Linked DNA regions of Homo sapiens: regions 2, 3 and 4 are each linked to region 1. Evidence: promoter capture Hi-C in 16 types of primary human blood cells and fetal thymus (Javierre and others, 2016). All regions are on one chromosome and are shown on one strand. The core of a region is centred on a gene start or on the middle of the fragment in contact, and the rest is flanking DNA. Distances in the headings are between cores, read along the strand shown.

Region 1 (2,700 bases), core at 24-2,523:
CCATATTATCTATCGCTTTGTATTAGTCACATTAATGCTTTCTCTGTTAGGAAAATTAAGAAGGCTGATTGACCTTCCTTGACTTTTCAAACCTAGTAATATTATTACGGGATACAAAGCATTTTCATGCGAAGAACTCTCAAAGTTCTACTAGTAATTGACTTTAACTTATAACAAAGATTTTCATAACACAGCAAATCAAAAAGTCCCACTAAGCCACTTTTACAGTAGCCGGTTTTTAGCAAAAGGTAGGAACGCCAGTCTCAGAGGAGGAGCTCACATCACTAGTCCTTAGGTTTGCGATCCCCAATAGTTTCAAAGCTGAATGTCACACATTCCTACTGTAGGTCTTTTCTAATTCCAACAAAAGGCAGATCCTAGCGTTTTTAGGATTTCAATCGAACTAAATTCCAACTATAAATAGTTTGCCTGCCACCTTCTTACCCTTCCTCATTTCCACCTTCTTTTCCAAAAAAAATCAGAGAGAACGATCGTACTGCACTCGGCCTTTGATAATTTCCTCCCCAAACCCTTAAACTCATGAGTTCCTCCAAACTCCACTGAGGGGCCAACCAGAGGCGACAGACTTCCCAAAAAGCAAATGGCCCAGGCAGGGGCGACCCCAGAAAACTGGTAGTCCCCTTCCGCTCGCTTAACTCTCCCGCCTGGGCGACCAGAGGACGGAACAGGGGACGCCAGCTCATCCCCACTCCGTATTCGGTCCTGCATCCATCCCAGAGGCGAACACACCATGGGTTTTAGGAAACCATCGTTCCTCCTACTCCAAGGGACGCCGGCCAGGACCAGAGTCGGGGAAGTGGGGCCCGATTCACACACTCCGGGCTAAAACTCTCTCGGACCCGAAACCAGGCGAACCCGCCCAGTCACCTGAAGCTCCGCAAACGCCCTAGGGGGTCCCGCCCCCGCAGTGCCGGCCGCACACCCAGGCCCAGCTCGGAGGGACGCCGCGGCCCAGACCCGGGGGACGCAAATCGTGCACGGCCGACCCTGCCCGCTTGGGCCGCGGATCGGGGGGCGACGGCCCCACCACGCTCAGTCCCGCGCCCCGGGAGGACCCGGCCCGACGGGCGACGGCCGCTTACCTGAGGACCCGGCCGCGGCCGGGGCGAGAAGCCCGAGAAGACAAGCGAGGGAGCAGAAGCCCACGGGGCAACAGCGTGCGCCGCCGACCTCAGGCTCTAGCTCCCGGAGCGTGTTTTCAAATAGCCTCGTCCTCACGCGGCCGCGTCTCCTTCCGCCGCCCGGAAATCAGGGCCCCTCCCCCTCCCTGCTGTGCTCACGTGATCGCAGCCCGCAGCCGCGCGCAACCGGGGAGGCGGGAGCGGGAGCGGTAGGCCCCGCCCACAGAGGAGGGTACCCCGCCGGAAGCCCCCTGCTCTGTGGGAACCGGAGGGAGGACAGCGCGAGGTCCCCGGACAAAGCGTGGCGCATAAGTCCGGCCCGTAACTTGGTGGGCAGGCAACTTAGGGGATGTGGGCCTGGTTATAGCTGAGCATGCTTTTCTATTCCTCCCAGACCACAGTTCTTCAGACCTGGAGCCACTTTCAGAGAAGAGTATAAGTTGCACTGAATTGAAAAAGGGAAAAGTTTAGGACTGCAGAAGATGGAATTCCTGGGGACGTTAAACTGGGCTAAGATGGAGCAGATAAGATTTCCTTAATTAGAGCAAGACACACCTAGTATCTAGAGCCTGGAAGTCTTGGTCAAGGATTCTCCCTAACATCTCAGTTTCTCAGCACTAACATTCCTGCTACTAAAATGAAGTGAGAAATTAATTTCTGAAGTTAAGTAAAGAAATAAACTAAAATTCCTAGAAAAGAGGTAAGAAGAATGAGCCTTTGAAAAATGTCTTCACAAAGACTGGCATGATGGCATGGAAGAAAGAGCCCCAGGTAAGGACTTCAGACCTTGATTCAAATTTGTGTCTACACCTCACCAGATAATTAAGACTTAGTAAAGCTAGCGAAGATATTGACCCTCATTATATTGGGTGGGAATTCAAAGGAATGATGTCTAAATCCAGGGAGACCCAAGCACTGGAACTAAAACCATGCCTGTTCCATAATCGGAGATAAAGAGGCAGCGCTAGAAACCCTGACCTCCCTTTGCTGGCAATATGGCCACATCACCACAATCTGCCTGGAATCGACCATAACCATAAATATTTGGGAGTCATTGGCATTATGTGGCATTATATTCTGTTTAAAGCTATGAGACTAGATCAGAAGAGGAAAGATTTATTGCCAACCAGACAAGTCCCTGGAACTCCAAACTTGTATCCAACAGTTTTTTCAATGTTTCCTTCAGATATCCAGTATACATCTCAAGGTCAACTTGTCCAAAACAGAGCTACTGATGATTTTCCCCTTGAAATCTACTCTTCCTACAGCTTATTCATCTCAAATAGTAAGTCTGTCCTTGCAGTTACTCAAGCAGAAACCTTTGGGTTTTTGGTTTGGCCTCTTTGTTCCACACCTCACATCTAATCCATCTGGAGATTGACTCTACCTTTAAAGACATCCTAACTTTCACCAGTTAACACACCTCCCCTGCTACCATTCTGGTCCAAGCCGCTTCTTGATCACTGCAAAAAGCCTGCAAACACATCTTCCTGCTTCCCTTATTGTCCTTCTTCCCCCTACAGTCTGGTATCAGCAGAGCAGCTGTGTGATTATTTTA
Region 2 (2,700 bases), core at 114-2,613, 1.1 Mb before region 1:
ACTTGGGAGGCTGAGGCAAGAGAATCGCTTGAACCCGGGAGGTGGAGGTTGCAGTGAGCCAAAATCATCACGCCACTGTACTCCAGTCTGGGTGACAGAGCGAGACTCCATCTCAAAAAAAAGAAAAGTTCGGGCGTGGTGGCTCACACCTGTAATCCCAGCACTTTGGGAGGCTGAGGCGGGTGGATCATGAGGTTAGGAGTTCGAGATCAGCCTGGCCAATATGGTGAAACCCCATCTCTAGTAAAAATACAAAAATTAGCTGGGCATGGTGCCACATGCCTGTAGTCCCAGCTACTCGGGAGGCTGAGGCAGAAGAATTGCTTGAACCTGGGAGGCGGAGGTTGCAGTGAGCCGAGATTGCACCACTGCACTCCAGGCTGGGCGACAGAGCGAGACTCCATCTCAAAACAAAACAAAACACAAAAACACAGCCTCTGCCTTAGAAGCACTTAATCAAGTGAGAAAAAGCAATGCAAATGCAGCTGCGGTTCATTGTAAAGCCTCTCACAACAGTCTGACTACAGTGTGGCCCTTCGCTCTCCCGTCATCAGGAGGAAGCTGGAGGGAGATGCAGTTCTGTGCACCACAAAGTTGTTCAGAGACGTTTTGGAGGTACCAAGTTTCCCATCATCAAGATTGTTCAAGGTTTGCTAGATGACCGTGTGATGGAAATATTAAAAAGGGGATATAAGCCTCAGTTATGACCTTTCTTCCAATCCTGAGACTGAACCACAAATATTCTGCTTCTACTTCCCTTTCTCTAGGTAGACTCTGACAGCCATGATCATGAATTCTGCTTGAAGGGTGTGGTCCTAGGAGTGGAAGAATGTTGGGAATAGTCCCGTGCAGTGGGAAGGACACTGAGGGCACAGGCGGAGTCTTGTGTTCTAGTTGCAGCTCTGCTGTTGACCTGTGGTGAGACCCTGGAGAAATCTTTCCCCTCTCTGGGTCTTAATGTTTCCTTCTGCACCGTGGGAGTGAGACTAAGTGTTCTCTGTGGTCTATTCCAGTGCTTCTCATTGCTGCCTCTGGGGAAGGACCATTTTTGGGGTTATATCTTTATTGTGATATAATTCACATACCATACAATTCACCTATTTAAAATGTACAATTAAATGGTTTTTAGTATATTCACAGAATTGTACAACCATCACCATGCTCAATTATAGAACATTTTCATCATCCCCAAAAGAAACCCTTTAACATCAACACCTTTTTCCATCAACACCTTCACCATCCCCAAAAGAAACCCTTTTCCATCAACACCTAATCCCGTTGTCTCCCTGCTGGCCCTAGGATACTTTCTGTCTCTATAGATTTCCCTATTCTGGACCTTTCATATAAATGGAATCATACAGTATGCATTTTAGGTAACTGTCTTCTTTCATTTGGAACAGTTCCAAGGTTCATCCATGGTAGCATGTATTGATACTTCACTCCCTCCTATTACTGAATGCTGAGTAATATTTTATTGTATAGATATAACACATTTCATTTATCCATTTGTCAGTTGATGGACAGTAGTTTGTTTCTACATTTTGGCTATTATGAGTGAAACTGCTATAAGCATTGGTGTATCGGTCTTTTATGTGGAGGTATGTTTTCAATTCTCTTGGTAATATACCTAGGAGTGCAACTACTGGATGATTAATTACTTCTCTGATCTTACATCCTGCCCCACCCCCTCCACACTCCCTGTGCTCCAGTCACAGGGGGCGCCACCTACTTGTACTTCCAATTCTTCAGCCCATGCTTTTGGAACTCTGCAGTTTTGCCCACACTACTTTTTCCCCTGAGATGTTATTCCCTTCCATCATTTGGGGTGCAAGTCTTTTGTGTTACTAAAGGCCCAGCTTAGATGTCATTTTCTCTGCAAAACCTTCCTCCAGTGCTTCCTCTTGTGAAAGCCATACAATCCCATGTGCCTCTTTCACAACACTAGGCATTTTCTACCTTGGATTGCAGTTATTTTCTACTCAGGTCTTATTGCCTCTTCTAGACTATAACCTTCTTAGCTCTATCTGCTTTTTAGATTTACTTTTTGTTTTTGAGATGGAGTTTCACTCTTGTTGCCCAGGCCAGAGTGCAGTGGCACGATCTCGGCTCACTGCAACCTCTGCCTCCTGGGTTCAAGCGATTCTCCTGCCTCAGCCTCCAGAGTAGCTGGGATTACAGGCGCCTGCAACCACACCCGGCTAATTTTTTGTATTTTTAGTAGAGACAGGGTTTCACCATGTTGGCCAGGCTGGTCTGGAACTCCTGACCTCAGGTGATCCGCCCGCCTCAGCCTCCCAAAGTGCTGGGATTACAGGCATGAGCCACCGTGCCCGGCTCTAGATTTACTTTTATATTCCAAGTGCTTTGCACATAGCAGACCCTGTATAAATGTTTGAATAGTGAGCATTTTGTGTGCTTTGTTATTGAATTATTTTAAGACAGTAGGTACCTCTACGCTCTAATGGCTCTCAGGGTTGTGACAGCCGTGCACGTCTTCTCAGAATGAAAGCACATTTTCTGGGCAGCATTTGAGGGTAAGCTGAGCTGCCTTCTCTTCCTTTAGCCCATTTCCCTGGTCTCTAGCCTGACACGAGCATCTCAGACTCTTCCTCATGCTTCCAGCTAAAATCTAACAAATTACTCTGAAATACAAGGTTATGTGTTATGGATCCTGACTTCTTCGAGCATTGCTTATGACTG
Region 3 (2,778 bases), core at 279-2,778, 1.1 Mb before region 1:
TAGTCTGTGGGCTCCTCATGGGCAATGTCTGATTCTGTTTTATTCCCCAAGACTCTCACCCAGTACCATATGCCTGGTGTACAGAAGGCTACAGACGTTTGCTAGATGTGTGCTAAACATTTAAAGCTTCAAGTCCAGTGATTTCCTCTTGTATAGTGCTGTCTAATAGAAATCTAGTAATATTAAAAATGTTTTTAAGGGTGAAATTAATTTTAACATATTATTTACCGAAAACATTATCATTTCAAAATGTAACCAATACTAAACAGTATTAATGAGATACTTTATATATACATATATTTCACATTACATCTTCAAAATCGGTTTGTATTTTAACTTTAGCACATCTCAGTTTAGACTAGCCACATTTCAAGTGCTCAACAGCCACATGTGGCTAGTGGCTACCATACTGAACAGTGCCGCTCTAGGATCTTTCTCCTTCTAAGGAACTGAATGAATGAACTATAGTAGTTTAGAGCACAAGCTCTAGATTCAAGACTGCCAGGGTTTGAATCTCAGCTCTACTAACTGGCCACGATCAAGTAATTTATCCCACTCTGGGCCTTAGTTTCCTCTTCTGTAACATGGTGACAAATTATAGTTCAAAAAACCCATATACTTTTTGTGATTATTAAATGCACTGATATATGCAAAACACATGGAGTTTAGCACACAGTATGTGCTCAATAAATATTAAAGCTAGTCATCATTGAGCATGAACTACATGCTGGCATTACTACAGACTTTCTTGTTGGGTAATCTTTACAAGTCATTTTAGTCTCAGCTAACTTAAAACCTGAAGAAGGTAACTTTAGGGATAATGTGCAATTTATTCAAAGCCACTTAATTAAAGCAGTAGATACGGAACTTGAATCCAAGATGCCTATTTCCAAGCCAATAATTTTTCCTCTACCCACTATAGTCTCAGCTGCCTCATGTCTACTGACACATGCAGGATGTTTGGTAAATGTCCACGTTACTTAAAAAGAAAGCTTCCATGCAAGCAAGGATGATCAAAAGTAACTCAGGAGTCATAATTAAAGAAACACAAATACAAATGTGATGCCATCTGCACCTATCAGTTTGGCAAAGTTTAAAATGGTTAATATCCAAGGCGGACAAAAGCATGGAGTAAGAGGCTCTATCATACATTGTGGGGGAGTAAAGTGACACAGCCTCCTTGGTAGGCAAACTTGGCAGTAGCTATTGATATTTAAAATGAACAACTCTTAGACCCACCAACTTTAGGAATTTCCTCAAACGACATATTTGCAGAAGTACAAAAATATTTTAAAAAAAAGAAGTAAAAGGATGTTCATTACAACACTGATCTATTCACAAAAAACTAGTCACAACATTAGTGTCCTTTAAGGAGAATGTTTAATTATGACACACTTAAACAAAAGTGGATTTTCTGGCCACTATGAAGAATGAAGTGAATCTCTAATATTGATACATAAGAATGTCCCGGCTGGGCGCAGTGGCTCATGCCTGTAATCCCAGCACTTTGGGAGGCCGAGGTGGGCGGATCGCGAGGTCAGGAGTTCGAGACCAGCCTGGCCAACATGGTGAAACCCCATCTCTACTAAAAATAGAAAAAATTAGCCGGGCGTGGGGCGCGCACCTGTACTCCCAGCTACTCTGGAGGCGGAGGTTGCAGTGAGCCGAGATCGCGCCACTGCACTCCAGCCTGGGAGACAGAGCAAGACTCCGTTTCAAAATAAATAAATAAATAAATAAATTTTTGCTGAAAAAGATGCCTAATAGTAGGTATGTCATAATACCAATTATGTACCAATAAGAAGATATAGATATACCTATGAAAAGACACAGGCTGGTGTCACCACAACTTCTGAAAAAATACAAGAGAAACTTAACGGTGGCTATCTTCAGGGAGTAGAATAGGACGGGGCTTTTAGGTTACATCCTTCTATACTACTAAATTTTTAATCGAGTAAATGTTACTTTTTAAAGTCATCTTTTTTAGGATGGGGAAAAATGCACGAAGGAAAGAGTCAAGAATAGCTACAGGGCAGATCCAGGTGGACATTATTTACCAAGGTAAAAAGCTTGAACTTTTCTCCAAAAACCAATGGGGAGCCATGTACAAGTTTTAATAGGGGCATGATATATTCAGCTTGGCGTTTTTAACACATGACACTGCTGAGGACGGTGTGGCCTGGCTCCGAACACAAGGACAGTGGGATGCAAATGGCCTGAAAGGAGAGTCAACAAAAATAACAGGTAAGCGGGAAGACAACACGCGAGTTACTCATTAGTAAAAGGTGACTGAAGCTGACTTCTAATACCAGCGTTTCTCAGAGCCCCAAAGACTATCTACCTCGGAATCACCCTATGACCCAGTTAAAATGCAGATGTCTGGGCCCCACCTCAGGGCACCTGGATGAAAACTTCCTGGAGGATGGAACCCCAGCAATCTGCAACTTTAAATGGGCCCACACTAAAGTTAGAGAACCACAGGCTCGCTCACAACCCTGACTTCTCCATGTCAGTTCCGATCTTTGCGAACCGCAGACAGGGAAGGTCTTCTCTCAGGGGTCATGCCCGCGGCCGCCCTCCACGGCGAGGTCCGCACTCGCGCAGCCGGCCCCGCGGCCGCCTCACCTGGTCGCACACTACCACGTCGAACTCCTCGTCGGCGAGGAACAGCACGTAGAGCGCCAGGAAAACCATGCGCACGTAGGCGCAGACGGCGGCGCCGCGGCCGCCCCAGCCCAGGCCTCGCGGCAGCCAGTCCCCGGCACAGCGCACCGGTAG
Region 4 (2,968 bases), core at 36-2,535, 1.0 Mb after region 1:
AATATGATAATTATCTTGACTAATAATCAACATCAAGTTGTATATCTTAAATATATAAAATTTTTAAAATAGTAAAGAAAATATAATCATCATTCTCAGTAATCTATTTCCTCTAGTTTTCTTCATAATTTACCACTTTCTGAAATTACATTACACATTTGTTCATTTCTTCCTCCATTAGAACATATGCCCTACGAGAACAAAAATTTGGTCTGTTTTAGTAACCACTGTATTCTTACAACACCTAAGATATAGCCTGGCATATAGTAAACAGCCTAAAAAATATTTGTTGAGTGAATGAATAAAACAAACTTGGAAGAGATTTGAGAGATAATAACAAATATTGACCAAAGAAGAGGGAAAGCTAATATCTGAACTGATGAAAAAGATCTTTCCTAATTGTAGTGGTTTTTGTTTTAAACCTAAGAGAGCATACATTGCTCCCTAGGGTTCCTACCATACGTTTTGATTTCCTAAACACTATCTAAGTCAAATTAGATTTACCTTCAAACAATTACACATGGTGCAGCCGTGCAGCAGAAAAAGCAGTAGATGGGGAGTTAGGAGACATATGTTCTAGATCCAGCTTTGCAATTAACTTGCTTTGTGACTTTGGGAAAATCACTTCCCTCCTGTGGGCCTGTTTCCTCATATGTTGGAGTACCTCGAGGATGAGAATGGATTTTGTTTTTCCTGCTGTATCCTAGGCGCTTAGAGTAATGCTGGCCCTAAGAAATCTGTTGAATGACTGAATGAATGAACAAACAAAAGGAGGAGGCAGTACTTCATTACTGAACCTTGCTTGTGAAGAAACACAGCCGGCAAATGAGTTTAGTTTACCAAGCGCTTTCATGTGTTTGCAGACAACACACTCGGTGTCTCGCACACGAGGTTAATCCTGCTTGCTTAATAAATAAATGAATGAGTGAAGTGAAAAGGAAAGGGGGTGGTATTTCCGTTATAAAATGAGAAAACTAAGGCCGAGAGTGGAAGAGACTGGGTCCCACCACTCAATGAGTGCTTCTCAACTCGGGACCCTAACCGGACCTCCTTGTCCTTGCTCTGATCAGGCGCGGGACCACGATGGCGTAACACTCTATTTTGAATTCGTCCCTAATCCTCCTTAACTTTCCTTGAACATGACCCACCGTCCACCATAAAGCTTTACCTGAATCGAGACCAAAATTCTCTACATGGTGTCCCTGAGACTGTCCACATGAAGACTCTTCTGGTAATGCCCGACACAGATCGCGCCGCCATCTTCGATGAGATCCACGGGCCTGAGCGCAGCCTTCAGCCAGCAGTGACGCGCCCAGACCAGCCAATCGGATACAATCCCAGTGGCAAGAGCTTTCTTTTTCCTGTAGGCTCCCTCGCCCTTTGCACGCTGGGAAATGTAGTCCAGTAGCTGTTGCTGGCGGCGTCTGGACCGCGGCGCTCTTTCCGAGCATGACGGGAGTTGTAGTTGAGGGGGCCTCGGGAAGAATCTGGGTGACGCCTTCTGGTCCGGGGGCGGGCGGTCATAGCGTTACTTGGCTGCAAGGAGGAGGAACTGGCAGCGGGGAGGAGGCTCTAGCGAGGCCTGAAAGGCTGCGTAACCAGGCAGGAGTAGGGGTTGGGGTTCGGGGTTGGGGGACAGCCAGGGATCGCGTCTGATATGCTGTTGGGGTCGTGACCGTCTGGGGGCCGAGGCAGGCACTGGCCAGACCCAGCCAGGGATCCTCGTATTCGTCGAGCCTAATTTCCAGCAGCCGGGTAGGCCTCACCAGAGGCTCCTTTCCGTGAGGCCGCCCCCAATTCCTGCCCCTATTCTCTGCCTGGGAGATGGCTTCCCCGAGCCCCCCGCCGGAGTCGAAGGTAAGTAAGCACCCCCCCGGGGATCCCGGTTGTCTCGCCGCTACCCCAGCTAGGCCGCACCACTGCTTTCTCCCCCAGGCCCCCCACCAACCTCCTGACCGCCTCTTTAGGGCCAGCGCCTTGCAAGGAACTCCCCACTAGTGCATTGGGGTGCGGTTCGCGAACAAACTGCCCACTGGCTCCCTTTTTTTTTTTCTTTTTCTAGAGAGACTTGATAAATCGGCCTGAGAAAATAAGTAATGCTCCAGACTAGCTCTCTCATTTGTGAGTTCTCCAGGTGAAGCACCATTTTTGACCTTCCCTTGTGTCTTCTGTTCCTGGCACAGTGCCTGGACCCCAAGGTACACGCTTAGAGAACCTCAAGGAATTGAATTGAATAGAGTCACAAGCCAGTGCAAATGGAAAATTGAAGTAGGCAATGAGGTGAGGGAAGCTTGGAGAGGCCTTGGGGCAGTTTACTAAAATTAAACTCTCAGGGCATAATAAATCAGAAAAGCCTTATCCGTAGGTCCTTTCTAGTCTGAGATGTCTGTCAGTTACAGTTCGTTCCCAGAATTGGGCAACATATGGAACTTTCAGTTATCATGTTCCTCCTAGCCTACTTGGCCACAATAAGTGATTGCCTCTGTCACTTTTAGTGGTAGAATTGTCCTTGAGACAACAGGAACTGACTACAGAAATCATACTATTTCAGGGGTTGCTGACATTTGAGGATGTGGCTGTGTTTTTTACCCAGGAGGAGTGGGATTATCTGGACCCAGCTCAGAGAAGCCTGTATAAAGATGTCATGATGGAGAATTATGGAAACCTGGTCTCACTGGGTAAGAATCTGCTGTTTCTCTAATTAAAATATCTAAGAAGGTAGAGAGAAATCAGACTAACAGAACATTTGGACGGAAACCAGTACCAAAACTGCTTTGTTCCAAAGTTCTGATTCAAACCTTTTAGCCATTAATTGTTTCCATAACTCTCATCCCTAGCTTCCTTGAGGTGACCAAACTGCAAGCCTTTCGGGCATCCTGTCTTCATAATCTCATTCCCATATTGTTCTGTACTTTCCGTCCTGGCTCATCCTCCCACAGCTTTCCTCCCACCCCTTTTCACTCTGCGT

The links. The method cuts DNA at HindIII sites, captures the fragments that hold promoters and counts their contacts. A CHiCAGO score of 5 or more calls a contact.
Region 2: a fragment that was not itself captured here is called in contact with the fragment with the promoter of TEX10 in region 1 in 1 of 17 cell types (fetal thymus); the score reaches 6.7 in fetal thymus.
Region 3: a fragment that was not itself captured here is called in contact with the fragment with the promoter of TEX10 in region 1 in 9 of 17 cell types (fetal thymus, total CD4 T cells, non-activated CD4 T cells and 6 more); the score reaches 12.3 in fetal thymus.
Region 4: the fragment with the promoter of MRPL50 here is called in contact with the fragment with the promoter of TEX10 in region 1 in 2 of 17 cell types (monocytes and fetal thymus); the score reaches 8.2 in monocytes.

Annotation. Positions count from the first base shown.
Region 1 is chr9:100,351,669-100,354,368 of GRCh38, forward strand. It overlaps TEX10 (testis expressed 10), which reads right to left and starts at 1,274. Exons shown (of 15, transcript NM_017746.4): 1 at 1,104-1,274. It overlaps LOC105376177 (a long non-coding RNA gene), which reads left to right and starts at 1,382. Exons shown (of 4, transcript NR_188642.1): 1 at 1,382-1,913; 2 at 2,329-2,427. RefSeq lists enhancers at 513-562, 967-1,601 and a silencer at 903-1,452. The HindIII fragment of the contact is 13,255 bases long and covers 1-2,700 here.
Region 2 is chr9:99,262,582-99,265,281 of GRCh38, forward strand. No RefSeq gene overlaps it. Among named protein-coding and RNA genes, the nearest start is that of SEC61B, 42 kb to the left of the region's middle. RefSeq lists an enhancer at 735-874. The HindIII fragment of the contact is 8,980 bases long and covers 1-2,700 here.
Region 3 is chr9:99,218,922-99,221,699 of GRCh38, forward strand. It overlaps ALG2 (ALG2 alpha-1,3/1,6-mannosyltransferase), which reads right to left. Exons shown (of 2, transcript NM_033087.4): 1 at 2,626-2,778. Among named protein-coding and RNA genes, the nearest start is that of ALG2, 1.6 kb to the right of the region's middle. RefSeq lists an enhancer at 1-110 and a cis regulatory region at 26. The HindIII fragment of the contact is 1,077 bases long and covers 991-2,067 here.
Region 4 is chr9:101,397,333-101,400,300 of GRCh38, forward strand. MRPL50 (mitochondrial ribosomal protein L50) reads right to left here and starts at 1,286. Exons shown (of 2, transcript NM_019051.3): 1 at 1,169-1,286. The coding sequence starts at 1,260. ZNF189 (zinc finger protein 189) reads left to right here and starts at 1,519. Exons shown (of 3, transcript NM_003452.4): 1 at 1,519-1,857; 2 at 2,552-2,678. The coding sequence starts at 1,825. RefSeq lists enhancers at 399-928, 929-1,457, 990-1,519. The HindIII fragment of the contact is 1,128 bases long and covers 1,161-2,288 here.